Regions from separate parts of the Homo sapiens genome. Here region 1 is linked to region 2. The links are contacts of gene promoters, found by promoter capture Hi-C in human tissues and cell types (Jung and others, 2019). All regions are on one chromosome and are shown on one strand. Each heading gives the region's core, a stretch centred on a gene start or on the middle of the fragment in contact. The rest is flanking DNA. Distances are from core to core; before and after follow the strand shown.

Evidence for each region. Contacts are between HindIII fragments. The study calls those that stand out against the background at their distance.
Region 1: a contact is called between a fragment that was not itself captured here and the fragment with the promoter of ERGIC3 in region 2, in 2 of the 25 tissues and cell types used here (IMR-90 fibroblasts and spleen).

The regions. Positions count from the first base shown.
Region 1 is chr20:35,258,222-35,260,921 of GRCh38, forward strand. The region is part of intron 2 of MMP24-AS1-EDEM2 (MMP24-AS1-EDEM2 readthrough); the gene reads right to left. All of the region lies in intron 4 of MMP24 (matrix metallopeptidase 24), which reads left to right. Among named protein-coding and RNA genes, the nearest start is that of MMP24-AS1-EDEM2, 19 kb to the right of the region's middle. The HindIII fragment of the contact is 5,720 bases long and covers 1-2,700 here.
Region 2 is chr20:35,540,758-35,543,631 of GRCh38, forward strand. ERGIC3 (ERGIC and golgi 3) reads left to right here and starts at 1,321. Exons shown (of 13, transcript NM_015966.3): 1 at 1,321-1,428; 2 at 1,566-1,636; 3 at 1,756-1,843; 4 at 2,065-2,184. The coding sequence starts at 1,341. RefSeq lists an enhancer at 993-1,082. The HindIII fragment of the contact is 35,337 bases long and covers 1-2,874 here.

The DNA of each region.
Region 1 (2,700 bases), core at 70-2,569, 280 kb before region 2:
ATACTTTAGTATATACCTCTAACAGATAAAGGCTAATTTTTAACATAAGCACACAATCATTATCAAGCCCAACAAAATTAACAATAATTTTTTAAAATCTAATACCCAGTTCGAGTTCACTTTCCCAAAGTACCTTGGAAATGTCTTTTACAGTTGTTTGCTTGAATCAGGATCCAAACAAGATCCACACACACATGGCTGACATGTCTCTTAAAGCCCTTTTTATTTAAAACACCCCCGTCCTACACACACGTTTCCCTCCATATATTTGTTGAAGAAACTGGGTCAGGTGTCCCGAGTATAATCATTTGGCGTGACTAGAATCAAGTTTACTTTTAATACGTCTCTCTTGCCCATAATTCCTGAATGTTGTTCATTAGATTTACAGGCTGACTAGATTCAAGTTCAATTTTTTTGGCAAGAATACTTCCTAGGTGGTGCTGGTACTTCCTATTCACCATATTAGCAAATACATATGATGCAGACTGTCCCACTTTTAGTGATGTTGAGGTCGAGCATTTGCTTCAGGTTGTGTCAGCCTGACCCAACCATTATACAATTCACCTGGAGAACTTAAAAAAAAAAAACAACAAAAAAGATTGCCTACGTCCCAAACCAAACCTCCTGAATCAGAATATCTTCCCCACCTCCTCCATGTGTTTAAAAGGCTCCCCGGGCCAGGTGCGATGGGAGCACTGGAGTAATCCCAGCACTTTGGGAGGCCGAGGGGGGGCAGATCACCTGAGGTCAGGAGTTCGAGACCAGCCTGGCCAACATGGCAAAACCCCGTCTCTACTAAAAATACAAAAATTAGCCGGGTGTGGTGGCACATGCCTGTAATCCCAGCTACTCGGGAGGCTGAGGCAGGAGAATGGCTTGAACCCGGGAGGCGGAGGTTCAAGTGAGCCGAGATTGCACCACTACACTCCAACCTGGGTGACAGAGTGAGATCCTGTCTCAAAAATAAAAAAGAAAGAAAATACTTTTTAAAAAAATAGGAAATTCACCCCTTTGGAAAGTGGCAGAGCCAGGTGTGACCCCAGGACTCCGCATTTTTAAGTCACCACAGGTGGTTCTGCTGCAGGTGGTCCGAGTATTTCCCTTGGTAAAATACGGTGCTTTTGGCGCTGTTCCATTCCGGGGGCTGTCACCTGGTTCTTCAACACAAAGCTTGTCCTCAAGGAACCCACAGTCCTGGGGCAGCGAGCATGTGCACTAGTGGCAATCACGTGGGGAGGAAGCGGTCAGTGCCATAAAGGCAGTTCAGGGAAACTGCTGGGAGGGCACAGCAGAAGGAGCACTCACTGCCAGCTGGGAAGTCATGGAAGGCTTCCTGGAAGACAGGCATGGAGCTGAACTTTGAAGGAATCAGGTTATTCCAGGGGAAGGGGCAGCACTGGCAGAAGAACAGAGGCAAAGGGAAATGCTATCACCTTTCGTGGGGCTGGGGGAGTTAATGAGATGGGAACGACCAAATATGGAGATCCTAAAAGAAAGAAATGAGGCAGAGACAAGGTCCACTTGAGTAGCCGAGTAGACTGCTGGGGACTTGCTCGGAGGCCCAGGGACTTACAGGAACACACCCTATCAGGGGTGCTGGTGCTCACACACAGCTCAACAGGACCCTGCTAATGAAGGGTAATACTTCTGTACCAGGAGCTGGTATCAGCGCATTACACACCCTGCCCCATGAATCTTCACCCACATCCCTATGACGAAGGTGCCATTGTTCCTTCTATCTTCCAGAGGAAGAATTTAAAATGTCACACTGCTAGGACATGGCAGAGCTGGGATTCAAAACCAGGCAGTCTGGCTCCCAGAGACTGCATTCCTGACCACTCTGCTTCCCTGCCGCTCACCCTCTTGAAGAGTGAAGACCCTAGCAGCCTCCTGCCCATGGAGCATGGGGTCCTCATAGCAGGCCTCTCCTCCTCATACCTCTGCCTTCACCTCACAAGCTCAGGGAGTCCTCCTGCCCCTGCCCTGCTCCCTCTGTCTCCCCCTCAGGGCTCTCTTGGGTTTCTGTGCAGCAGGATACTGGCTCCCTCGCTCTTCCCTTCCTTTTGGTTCCTGGACCCAAACCACAGGCCTCTTTCCTTTAAGGGGTCACTCCTGTTCTCTGCAGACCCAGAACAGGGGTTAAAAGAGCAAGAGACAAGGCTGCGGACAAAGGTTTTGAGTCTCCCACAGTGCTCAGAGCCGTGTTCCCTGGTTCCCAGCTGAGCTCCCTGTGGACAGCCCCTGGGGAAGAGCCTGCTCAGGAGACAGAGGCCCTGAACAGCTTGTCCCAGGTCATAGAATAGCCCAGGAGCACAGCCAGGACTGGACCCCAGGAAGCAGAGCTGCCTTCCGCTGGCTCTACCAGTTTGTTTGGGATGGAGCTCAGCGATGAGCTCACCCTTCCCTGCTGCCAGAGGGGCCAGGACCTGAGTAAGGAGCTGGGGGCGGCCTGGCCCTCTCATGCCAGCAGAAGGCCAGCCCCAGGCTTTTGGCCAACCTTGCACTGATCTTGCCCATCCCCCTTCCTTTCCGTTGCTCAAAGGTGGCTTCACAGAAGACACTGGCGGTGTCAGTAGTGTGGGAGGCATGTACTGCCCGTGGCCTGGGTCTGCCCCATGGGGTTCTTCTCTCTTCCAGAGACCTAAGCCAGGAAGGCCAAACAATCCCCACCCCCATGTGTCCCTAGGCCAGTGACGCTGG
Region 2 (2,874 bases), core at 71-2,570:
ATTTTTAATTAAAAAATGGAATGATGGAATGCACATTACTTTGCATCTTTTCCCCCTTAAAAATACATTCTTAGTATACCTAAAGGAGTAAATCTACCTCATTCTTTTGAAAAGTGGCCTAATATTCCATAGAATGGGTGTATCGTGATTTATTCAATTTATTTAATGTATCAGTGGGCATTCTGGCTGGTTCCAGATTTTTGCCATTGAACAATCTCATGCATACATCTTTATGATGTGGTGCACTTAAAATCTTTAAGAGACAGATTCAATATCTTAAGGTGTAACAACCACCCAGATCATGGTACTTTTATCCTTATATTAAAATTTTTTTCTGTTAACCTTGGATAGCTGCTTACATATTTTTTCTTTTTCAAAATTTTTCTATTAACCTTGACATGGTGCTTTTACTTCCTAAAGTGGAATTCCTGTATGAAAGCCTATGAGCTTTTATATCTTACTCATTGCAGCTGCATTACTGTGGGAGCTGTCCCTCTAGAGACACTGGGCTGCAATGGGAAGTGTCAGGGAGAGCTTAAGCTCCATATCACTTGAGTCTAAACCTGGAGGGATAGAGCGTGTCCGTGAGGATCCCAGGGCCTGGAGAGCAATTTAGGGTAATATTCAGAAAGCAGCGCTCAGGAGAAGCACTGGGACGCTGTTTAGGTAAAATCAACCCAAAAGACCCTGATTCCCAGAGTACTTTGAGGTCCAGAAGAACTGGGCTGGAAGCAGGTCCTGCTATTAATTGGCTGTGATCTTGGGCAAGTTATTTAACTTCTCCAGGTCACAGTTTGCTCTTTGGAAAACGGAGATAAGTCACACCTGCTTTCAGGGCGGACACCCTTACTTTACATCAGAATCATCCGATGCCATTCCTAGCGTTTCGGCTTCAGTAGGTGGGAATCAATTATTTGCATTTCTAATAGGTAATCAGTTGATAATGATGCGGCCGGTCCGGTACACTCGAAAAACCACTGTTCCAGGATATTCCAAGATGTTCCAAGAGTCTTAAACACCTGGTGCAGTTCCGAGCACAAGGCACACGAACGGTGCTATTAGCGTTTCTAACCCCGCAGAGAACTCCTCGCACCCCAGTCCTCAAAATCCCGCCCCGGACAGCGGAGGCCGGGGCAGTAGCTTCCAGACCCAATTGCCCGCGCAAGGGGGCGTGGCAGCATCGTTGGGCGGGGCCGCCTGTAAGAGAACGCGGCTAAAGGTGGGGCCAAGCGTGCGGTTTGCTGCGCCTGCGTGAGGAAAAAGAGGGGGGCGTGGCTCCAGGCCGGAAGAGGGAGTCTGTAGGGGCGGGCCGGCTGGCGTCCCCTTTCCGGCCGGTCCCCATGGAGGCGCTGGGGAAGCTGAAGCAGTTCGATGCCTACCCCAAGACTTTGGAGGACTTCCGGGTCAAGACCTGCGGGGGCGCCACCGGTAGGCCGCAGCGGGGCCGGGGTCGCGTGGAGGGGGGCGTCCTAGAGCTTAGCCCGGGCTCCTGGACTCTGACTGGCCTGCCGGTGTCTGAGGGAGCGGATTCGAGGCCATTCTGACCCTCGCCCCTTGTCCTGCAGTGACCATTGTCAGTGGCCTTCTCATGCTGCTACTGTTCCTGTCCGAGCTGCAGTATTACCTCACCACGGAGGTAAGGGGCGGGGCTTAGTGCGTGGGCGGGGCTTGGCATTCTAGGAGTAGGACCTTTAGGGGTGGGAGTGGGGAAGGAGAGGTTTGGGGCTAAGTCTTACTGAGGTAGCGCTGCCCCAGGTGCATCCTGAGCTCTACGTGGACAAGTCGCGGGGAGATAAACTGAAGATCAACATCGATGTACTTTTTCCGCACATGCCTTGTGCCTGTGAGTACCTCACCATGGGTGGGACTGGAGAGACCCAGGGTTCTCATGTGGGCTGCCAGATTCACACCTCCACCCTTAGGTTCTGGACTGGACCCCAGGACAACCTCCTTCTCCTCATCCCGTTCTGCCCCAAGACAGGCCCAGTATCCCCTTCCCCTCCAAAACCCACATCCCCTTGTCCCTAGGGTCCCAGTACCTTAGCCTGATTTTCCTGCTTCCAGATCTGAGTATTGATGCCATGGATGTGGCCGGAGAACAGCAGCTGGATGTGGAACACAACCTGTTCAAGCAACGACTAGATAAAGATGGCATCCCCGTGAGCTCAGAGGCTGAGCGGCATGGTAACCAGGGGAGGGGGCCGGGTCTCAGATCCCAAAGCTGGATGTACCCAAGCCTATCTGCTAGCAAGTGAACTGTGGCAGGCATAGTGATACATTAAACAACTAAGAGCTAGAGAAGTCAAGTGACTTGCCTAGGGTCCCCCAGCTAGTAAGAGTCAGAGTGAGCTAAAATCCTCTATACATATCGAGTCAGGTAATCTACCTGGCTATTATTCTCAGAGGTCCTCAATACCTGCAGATGGTAGTTTGAATACCAGAGGTTTGAAGATAGGTCTTATGTGCTCTTGCCTTGGTAGAACTGTCTAGATGGACCCAGGCTTCTTTGAGTGTTTGCTTTCCCAGCCCATTGGCTTAATTCAGCCCTTAATGCTCTTCCCCTTTGGAATGCAGGTGGTTTAATGAGAATTTAGGTTCTCAAGTCAGATTGCCTGGGTTCACATCTAGCTTTGTCTCCTGCAGTCTGTGAGCTTCAGCTAGAAAGTGGTAATAAAACAGTAGTACCAACCACATGGAATTGTAAGATCAAATGAAGTCATATGTGTAAAATGCCTGGTACAGAGTGGGTACCCACTTTTACCTTCCTTTCCTTTATCTTGGTGGCTTCCCAATTCCCTTCGTTAACTCAGTTTCCCACCACAGCAAACTGTCCTCAAAGCTGGGATTTCTAACACCTTAGAGATTACTCTGGTG